Linked DNA regions of Homo sapiens: region 1 is linked to region 2. Evidence: promoter capture Hi-C in human tissues and cell types (Jung and others, 2019). All regions are on one chromosome and are shown on one strand. Each heading gives the region's core, a stretch centred on a gene start or on the middle of the fragment in contact. The rest is flanking DNA. Distances are from core to core; before and after follow the strand shown. Region 1 overlaps VWA3B (von Willebrand factor A domain containing 3B). Region 2 holds the start of VWA3B (von Willebrand factor A domain containing 3B).

Evidence for each region. Contacts are between HindIII fragments. The study calls those that stand out against the background at their distance.
Region 1: a contact is called between a fragment that was not itself captured here and the fragment with the promoter of VWA3B in region 2, in 2 of the 25 tissues and cell types used here (bladder and mesendoderm cells).

What each region holds. Positions count from the first base shown.
Region 1 is chr2:98,179,261-98,183,732 of GRCh38, reverse strand. It overlaps VWA3B (von Willebrand factor A domain containing 3B), which reads right to left. Exons shown (of 28, transcript NM_144992.5): 9 at 2,521-2,717. Among named protein-coding and RNA genes, the nearest start is that of VWA3B, 94 kb to the right of the region's middle. The HindIII fragment of the contact is 8,998 bases long and covers 1-4,472 here.
Region 2 is chr2:98,083,995-98,088,697 of GRCh38, reverse strand. It overlaps VWA3B (von Willebrand factor A domain containing 3B), which reads right to left and starts at 1,531. Exons shown (of 28, transcript NM_144992.5): 1 at 1,335-1,531. RefSeq lists enhancers at 802-1,302, 1,337-1,406, 1,303-1,803. The HindIII fragment of the contact is 7,495 bases long and covers 1-4,703 here.

The sequences.
Region 1 (4,472 bases), core at 1,599-4,098, 94 kb before region 2:
TCCGTATCCAGTGTGCCTTCCGCCATATCACATGAACTGGTACATAGCAGGGGCTCCATAAATATTTGTTTGAAAAATAGACAAAGAGACAAGAATGGGTTTTTGAACATCAGGCCTGGTTTTGTGCATGAGCTCAAGCAACCGTGCATGCAGTGTGATTTCAGGGATGCCTGAAATATCAAGTTCTTAGGCTTGGCCTGAAATTCCCTTATTAGAAATGCATGTTTGTCTCCTCCTCCCAGTTGTTCATCATCTTTGAACTGCTACATAATAAGGCCTTTTTAGCCATTCATTTCTGTGTTAACGAGTTTCCTGGGTCTGTTCCTATAAACTAGTTTTTATTGTTAAATATTTAGGGGGTCTTGCCCAGTGGGAGTCTGGGGGAACCCTAAATAATCTACCTATTTCACAGCCTTAGTTTCTTCCTACTTTATACACATCACAATTTTAGGTGTGAATCCAGTTTCAGTATGTAGTCCCAAAGACTAAAAATAAAACTGTCCCTTTCTCATCAGTATTTGTAAAAAAAAAAAAAAAAAAAAAGGGAGCTGTACTATATATTAATAATTCTCAATCTTTACCATAATACAGTTGACTAGCACAAAAAAATTGAGGTAAAATTCCCTCTTGTAAGCCAAATTATTCAAAGTGATCCTGTAAAATTTCATTTAAAATTGACAAGAATGAGTTAGGAGATGATCAGTATTAGAGCTAGCTTGAATATACTACATTGTTGTCAGTTTGCAGTAAGCTATGTTCAAATTGATGGGGATTAATATTTTGAAATATCCAGAATCTAATGTATTTTTTATTTTATTTTATTTTGAGACAAAGTCTCCCTCTGCCGCCCAGGCTGGAGTGCAATGGCGCAATCTTGGCTCACTGCAAGCTCCACCTCTCGGGTTCTGCCTCAGCCTCCCAAGTAGCTGGGATTACAGGCACGTGCCACCATGCCTGGCTAATTTTTGTATTTTTAGTAGAGATGGGGTTTCACCATGTTGGCCAGGCTGGTCACGAACTCCTGACCTCAAGTGATCTGCCCGCCTTGGCCTCCCAAAGTGCTGGGATTACAGACGTAAGCCACCATGCCTGGCCTATTTTTAAAATGAAAATTTAGTTATGTGTGATTTCCTGAACATTACAGAATAATGTCTACAAAACCAGAAAACTGTGCTGGGGGAGGAAACCCACAAATGAGATTTTCCCTGCGCTGTAGCAATTACCCTGCATCCTAGGGTAAGCCAGGAAACAAGTCGTGCATCAATTCTGCATTTTTCTAATTCAGTTTTTATATTTTCTTCCTTGCAGTTTGTCATAAATGCACAGCAGTGAGGGGGCAAGAACATAACATGGTGTGGCTCACATAGCCCCGACGGACAGTGCCCTTTCCATGGAGGGCATGTAGGGCTCAGTGGCCGGCCAGCCTAATAACAAGTGGCAACAGGACTGGAGTTCCCCCTCTGCTGGAGTTACAACATCTCAGTAATGACCCTGACTTTGAATCGGAGCCTTCAAGAATACATGAGGTGACACTGCATTTGAGGGGGGGGCCTTGATTTTCTTTCCCAGGTGTCTCCTCTGGGCTGCGGTCACCCGCCTGTCACCTGCCTGTCTGCCCTGGGCTTGCATTTTAGGTTCACTTCACAGCATGTACCTGGAACTTTGCCACCTCCTGAAAGAGCCTGCCTTTGGTTTTGCAAATCTGCCATGTTCATTTTATCCTGATTTCTATTTCACATTGGGACACTTCTTAGTCTTTCCATGCTTCTAAACCTTTGACACCTTGTCTTCTGGTTCCTGTTCTACACCTCTCTGCTTCTCAAGGTGTGGCCCCTGGACCAGCAGTGTTAGCATCATCTGGGGGTTGTTATGGATGCAAATTCTTGAGCCACATTTCGGACCTACTGACTCATATGCATGATGCTGGAGTTAAGGCAGCACTGCTGTCGAGCACTGTCCTTCATTGGGAGCCAGAGTCAGGCACTAGGAGAAGCTGTATTCCTACAAAACCCACAATAGAACTGCAGCTTTCAAAGTTTTTAATGGTTATAGCCCTTTGGAGGATCTGACTCCTTATTTGCTGGGATTGCGCTGTATGCTGGCTGCTAGTCACTGGAATAATGAGGGAAAATACAAGAGGACCACAGAAACGCCTGCTGCGCTGGGCATACTCACCAGCAATTTCTCTTTTCCATTCAATATGGGGGAACAAAGGGCTTCTCTATTTGCATAATGTTGAATAATTCTGAAACTCATAATGCCTGATTTCTCCAAACCCAGCCCCTGGCTTATGTACAACTCACTGATGTCTAGAACTCATTCCCAGCCTTGATCTCCACTCCCACAGATGCCCTTTGGAGAAGGGTGAGGAGGGAAACAGAGGAACCCTGTTCTTCACAGAAACCCAAGCTGGTTTCTCTCCCTGCTGCCCCTTCCCCTGCCTTCTGACCCGATGGAGGCCTCACCCACCCAGGACTTGAGGGGAGGCCCCAGCCCCTCCCAGGAGTGCACTTCACCTACCGCACTGGTCTGCACGGACTCATTCTCCGGTTTGGCTTTTATATCCACAACCCCATCAGCGTGGCGGAAAGAGCAGTCGGCAAGCACATCATACAAGGATAGCTTCTGGGCCTTCAAGCCATATTTCTGCAGCCATGTCTTAGAGTCCCAGGTGTCTTCTGGATTCGATGCAATCTCAACAGAGGTTGTTTCTGACTCTGTAGAATCACAGCTTGTCAGCCATTCATACTGCATGAGCCATTCATATTACACCCCCAACTTAATATTGACCAACTTGGAACGTGTTCTTTATTAGACACAAAGCCCATGTTTCATTTCAGAAAACAGCTTTCCAAAGCAGGACTGGCAAAGAATTATTAGGCTTTTAATGGCAAAAACCACGACTACTTTTGCACCAACCTAATAATTCAAAAGACTGCAAAGCAGGGTTACTTTTTATTTCACTTCCTCCTCTACCAAAGTTGACTGGCCCCATGCCTGGGTGAAGGTGACCAGTAGACCAAGGCTGTGTGTCAGGAGCCATGTATGTGTAAGGATGGAGTCAGAAGCTCTGGCTTCAAGGCCTGGCTCCATCACCTTCTAGCAAGTTGCTCAAACTTGGGTGAGTCACTCCACTTGACCTCTCTGAGCTTAGGCAGGATTCTTCACCTGCAGCTGGAAGACAGTATTTGCTTGGCCTTCCTAGGTAAACTGCAGCAATCCAGTGAGAAAAGTTATGTGAGGCCAGGCATGGTGGCTCACGCCAATAATCCCAACACTTTGGGAGGCCAAGGCAGGTGGATCACCTGAGGTCAGGAGTTTAACACCAGCCTGGCCAACATGGCGAAACCGCATCTCTACCAAAAATACAAAAATTAGCCAGGTGTGGTGGCAGGTGTCTGTAATCCCAACTACTTGGGAGGCTGAGGCAGAACTGCTTCAACCTGGGAGGCGGAGGTTGCGGTGAGCCGAGAATGCACCACTGCGCTCCAGCCTGGGCAAGAGAGCAAGACTCCATCAAAAAAGAGGAAAGAATGAAAGAAAGACAGAAAGAAAGAGAGAGAGAGAAGAAAAGAAAGAAAGAGAGAAAGGGAGGGAGGGAGGGAGGAGAGAGACAGAAGAAAGAAAGAAAAGAAAGAAAGAAAGAGAGAAAGAAAGAAAGAGAGAAAGAGAGAAAAGGAGGGAGGGAGGAAGGAGAGAGAGAAGAAAGAAAAAGAAAGAAAATAGAAAGGGAGGGAAGGAGGAAGGGAGGAAGGAGATAGATGAAGGAAAGAAAGAGAAAGAGAGAAAGGAGGGAGGGAGGAAGGGAGGAAGGAGAGAGAGAGAAGAAAGAGAAAGAAAGAGAGAGAGGGAGGGAGGAAGGAGAGAGAAGAAAGAAAGAAAAAGAGAGAAAGAAAGAAAGAAAAAGAAAGAAAGAAAGAAAGAAAGAAAGAAAGAAAGAAAGAAAAGAAAGAGAAAGAAAGAGAGAAAGGAAGGAGGGAGGAAGGGAGGAAGGAGAGAGAGAGAGAAGAAAAAGAAAGAAGAAAGAAAGAAAAAGAAAGGAAGAGAAAGAAAGAAAGAAAAGAAAGAGAAAAAAGAGAAAGAAAGGAAGAAAGGAAGGAAGGTAGGTCACGTGAAAATGCTCTGTAATGTGGTGGAAAGAGAAGTGATGAGGTGGAGGCGATCAACACGCGAAGGCTAGGAGGCTGCCTCCCCTGAAGCCCCTTTGTTACCTTGGTGAGTGTGTCCTGACTCACAGCCTGGCTTTCCACCCTGCAGGCTCAGAAACCTCATGTGCCCTATCTAGGACAACTCACCTTAGCTTCACAGGGAAAAGAATAACCACAATGCCAATTGCCTAAACATCTCCAGCCTCAGGCACATTCTCGTGGTGTTTTCCAGAGGTAATCTACACTGAGAAGACTGTGTTATGTTACCTGAGCGGGACAAGCCAGCATATCACACAAGCAGAAAACTATTTTTCCAGATGACTC
Region 2 (4,703 bases), core at 282-2,781:
AGTTTCCTCAGCTGAGGTTATTATAAATTGGGGAACCAAGTAACCCAGAAGTCGGAAACAACAACATACCGGAGTTGAGCATTGCCCTAAGTTTTAGAGGCCATCCCAAGAACCATACATAGAGTTTGGATAGGAAAGTATTTCCTTAGAAGAAGGAGGAAGTGTAAAAGGAAAAACAAGGAAGTGAAAGTCTGAGCTGAAAATGTGGGCAGGCAAAGCTTTGGGGAAAATAGAAAGGTTAAGCTGGCAACTGTACAAGGGCCCCGTCTACTGGAAGCAGATGCTCCTGGGCTGCCCTGGGCGACAGTCTTGTGAAGTCAGCATGCCCTCAGAGAAAAGGTCCTATGTGCTCGGAGGTTCAGGGACAGTGCAGGGTTGAGAGTCCATTAATCCAGTTTAGACATTCAATAAGCTTCTAGCTACTTTATTATCAACACCCCAAACTTCCTATACCCCTGTTAGTTTCTGAAAAAGAAGTCTGGGCTAGGTGGATATATATCTTGTGATTTAGGTGAATTTGTGAACGATGATTTTTCCAGGAAGAAAGGAAACTGGGACGAAGCTTCATGATGGATCCTGATGCAACTCTTCCCCAGAAACCCTTAAACCTCCTCCCATTTTTTCTGCCCTTAAGGGACAAGGCTTGGCTGTGATCATTGGCTCAAATAATGTGGACAGAGACAAGGATATTGAAACGGACTGTCCCACCGTTGAGAAAATAGTCAAGAAGGCAATATCTGAGAATAATTGGAGTGCTTTAGGAGGAAGGTCATTGCTGAGAAGAAACAGAGCTTCCAAGAAAATGAAAGGAAAAGCTCTACCAAATGGAAACTAAATCTACTTATTAAGTCTTATTTCCATATAAGGAGGGTGAAAGAAACTGATATGATTGTGAAACCATGTAAGTGTTGCTTTGGCTTTTAGACTATACATATTTATCCTTATGTTCAGGAAATGTGTTTCTTCTGGTTCCCATGTTCCCTCCAAAGCCCAGGTGGACTTCATCACCTTGAACTGCTGGCCTATGGCATAGACAGAAACTAGGAAAACCGCTTTTCCACCAGAGCGGCTGGGCGTGGGCTCGGGTGAGGTGTGATGGAAAGAGCTCTAGAGTAGGAGGGGTCGGTACCTTGACCCTCGGCTTGCCCTGGGTAGCGGACGATTAAGTGGGCCAGGGCAAGTCACCGAGCTTTCCTGGTACTGTTTCCGCATCTGTAAAGTGGGCGTGTAGTCCACCTCAGAAATGGCATTTTTCCAAGACCTCCCTAGGCCGCTTGTTGGAAGGCTCGGCACCTCGGCGGCTCTCGTGCGGCAGGCATCGCTCCCACACTTACTAGGCAATATGTCGGGTGGAAGACGTGGCGGCTCCCGCTCAGCAGCCACCCTCCCATCCTCCCGGGCCCGCCTGACCCGAGAGGGCGGGCGAGGTAAGCATCCCGCTGGTGGATAAGGCAGCGATTCCGGCGGGCGAAGGCTGCGCGCCGGGGGCGAAGGATTCCAGCTGTTCTAGGTCTCTGTGACCCGCGCCTCTGGTTCCGAGCGCGGTCTGTTGACGACGGCGTCTCCGCGGTTGCCTGGACACGGCCAATCACAGCGCGGCTCCTGGAGCCGGCCCCGCCCACAGACCGCGCCCTCACTGGGGCGATGGCTGCGGACCGTGGCCAAGAGGGCGGGGCGCCGAGGCCGTCACCGAGCCAGGTGCGGAAAGCCGGCGTCCGGAACCACCCGGGCCGGGACGACCTCCACCCCAGACCCCCAAACAGAGGCCACGCTAGAGGGACAGGGCGAGTGGCGTTGCCCCTTGCGCCTACTGTCAATGGGAAAATTAACAACAGCGGAGAATATGAATGAAAGAATGAATGAATTAACAAACAAATACACTGATGAGCTGGGGTAGAAATATAGGGTGCGAGCAGACAGGGGAGGAAGGCGCCAGAGGCCGAGGAGAGGCGAGGAGACTGCGGGAAACGCTACAAACGAACTTCTTTTCATACTTTTCAGCAGAGCATTGACCCCTGTGTAGTTTTAATTTTCACCTCACCACTGTCAGGCGATGCTCTCTTCCTTGCACAGTTCAGAGAAAGACGCTTTAAAAGAGGTGGGGCAGTTCGTTGTAGCTCAGCCACTGGACGTGGGCGGAGCTGAGACAGACAGAAGGGACAGGGAGCTGCAATTTTGCAATTGTGGAGGCAGGGGCTGCAGTTGCCAAGAATATTCTTACCTGTTTGACATGAATATTTCTATAGGCATTATTTTCTCCATTCAGCTTTGTTTTTAACCTTTGTTTCAGTGTTACCTTATCAATTAAGCAAAAGGCTCTAAATATTTTCCTATTTTTCCAGTCACCAGGAAATAAAATTGTGCTTATGAAAAGTATCTTTAAAGTCTTAATAAAAGACCCCACAGTAAGTATTGTTTTTAGGGTATTGGGATAGTAAACGATTTTAGATTTTAAAATTATAGAACTGACCAGATCATTTGCAGGTTTTTCAAAGAACTAATAAAACATAGTTAATGTTAGAACTGAGTAATTCTGTCCCCCCAAAAAAAGTCTGCTTCATCCACAGGAATTTATTTCTCCTGCATTCTTTTAATGCCTCTATCATTTAAAAAGTACTGAAAGATTTCATTCCATATCACAAATCATTCCTGGCAGTTATTAGTTTATATATATTTGGCCCTGCAAATGAAACCTGCCATCCACACCACCAAAAAACAAGCAAAAGCTTGATAGTACTGAAGACTGTTCAGAAGGGAGTAAAACACCAGCCTCGCCCATGTTTGCCAATGACCCATTAATCCTTGCTGTCCACACCCTGCCACACTAATATTCTTGGGTCACGGGGGTGAGACAGAGCACACAGCAACACATAGCCAAATGCCCTGCCTCACATGGTCACGCCAGGCACTCTTGTTCCCACCTTCACCCCATGCCTGCTCCTTTCCCTAGGACACTTGCCACATACGTGCAAGTCACCAAGATGATCTGTCCCTATCTTTCGTGTTTATGTGTCTATAAGCATACATTCTGTTGAAAATGTGAAACATTACTTACTTAAATTGTAGAATGATAAGTGAGTAGAAGTTTAAGGTTATTTTGAAGCATTAAATAGTTGGTATGGACTTCAGTTTAGCTAGTTACAGAATGGTTTGCCTCATTTTTATTGAGTTATTTGAAATAAGAAAACCTTTAGCACAGTGGTGATACACTACTATACTGAACTTTTGACAAATTTGTTTTGAGTTTACATTTTTACAGATAATTTGTATCTTTCCTTAAACCTCAGTAAGCGACATTGATCAAATCACTGCCATCTTTGATGTCAAACTTCTGGACTTTACCATTAAGGGCTCAAATTATACTTTCAGACTTTTGCTCATTGCCTCCAACACAAACCCCCATCCCAGAGAGACCCACCTGGTCCCTGCCTCTGAGCACAGATGACTTTACTCAGGCCACCCAGATTACCACAGTTTGGGAATCACCGTCCCTTCAGGGTCAGCTCTAGCTCTTCTCTCTCTCCCCAAAGCCCTCCCATGGATGCTGCGGCCCTAATAACTTCTCTCTACCTGTACAGTCTCAAAGCATTGCTTGCCAGTACCACACTCTTGGCAACCATGTACAAGCCTTTGACAAGCCTTTCGTTGTTATTTGACCTTTGTGCTGTTTACTTTTCAGGTTCAATGGGTTTTCCTTTTCTTTATACAAGTCTATCACTGCCACTGCTTGGGCTTATGGCCATGATCAGAATGTTTGGTGGAGGAGGGAGGGTGATAAAGGAAATGAAGGGAGGAAAAGCATTTTCCTAAGCCCACTGCAAAAACTGGAACCAGAGGAGACGGAGAATGTTAACTCCTTGTATATATGTGTGAGAAAGAACCTGAGCTGGAATTAAAACAGAGGCACTCCCTCTGAAGAGGAAGGAGAAACTGAGAGAGTGAGGCAGTTCCTGCTGAACCTTTGTTAGCTCTTGTGGTGAAGGGAGTTTTCGCCATCAGGGGCAGCCTTGGGAGAGGTAGGTGGGGACAGGGGCCATCACGGGGAGGTAGAGCTCAAACAGAGGTTTCTCTATGCTGTGATGTTCTTGAGTTCAGCATTCATTATTTGGGACAATGAATGTAGACTCCTGGCTCTCAATCTAACATCTTTGATGAGGGTCAGAGCTTTTTTACTACCCTTGGCAAAGACTACGTTCACTTTTACCAGACTGAATTAACACTTAATCATAGCTAGAATGTATTGAATGTCAGACCATGTTCTAACCTCTTTAAATATATTACATCATTTAATACTTAGAAAAGCTCTTTGAGGGAGACATCATAATTATGTCCATTTTCTAGATAAGTAAACTGAGACAGAATATTAAGCTATTTCTCCAAGGCCACTCAATGGTGGTTCCGGAATTTGAACCCAGGCAGCCTGACTCCACACCCTGCCCTGTTAATTATATGCTGTGTTGATCAACTGTTGGCTTCAATTTTCTCCAAGAGGAAATTTCTGTCATCTCAGTCATACAGTGTTCATTTAGTGCTTGATACTAATGGCACAGAGAAACCTCCCTGGATTTAAATGTGTTTTTAACAAGACATATTCCCATTTTAAATGGCATAAAGCAGGTCTGTTTTTAAATTACCCTCCCCGGCCAGGCACCGTGGCTCACGCCTGTAACCCTAACACTTTGGGAGGCCAAGGTGGGCAGATC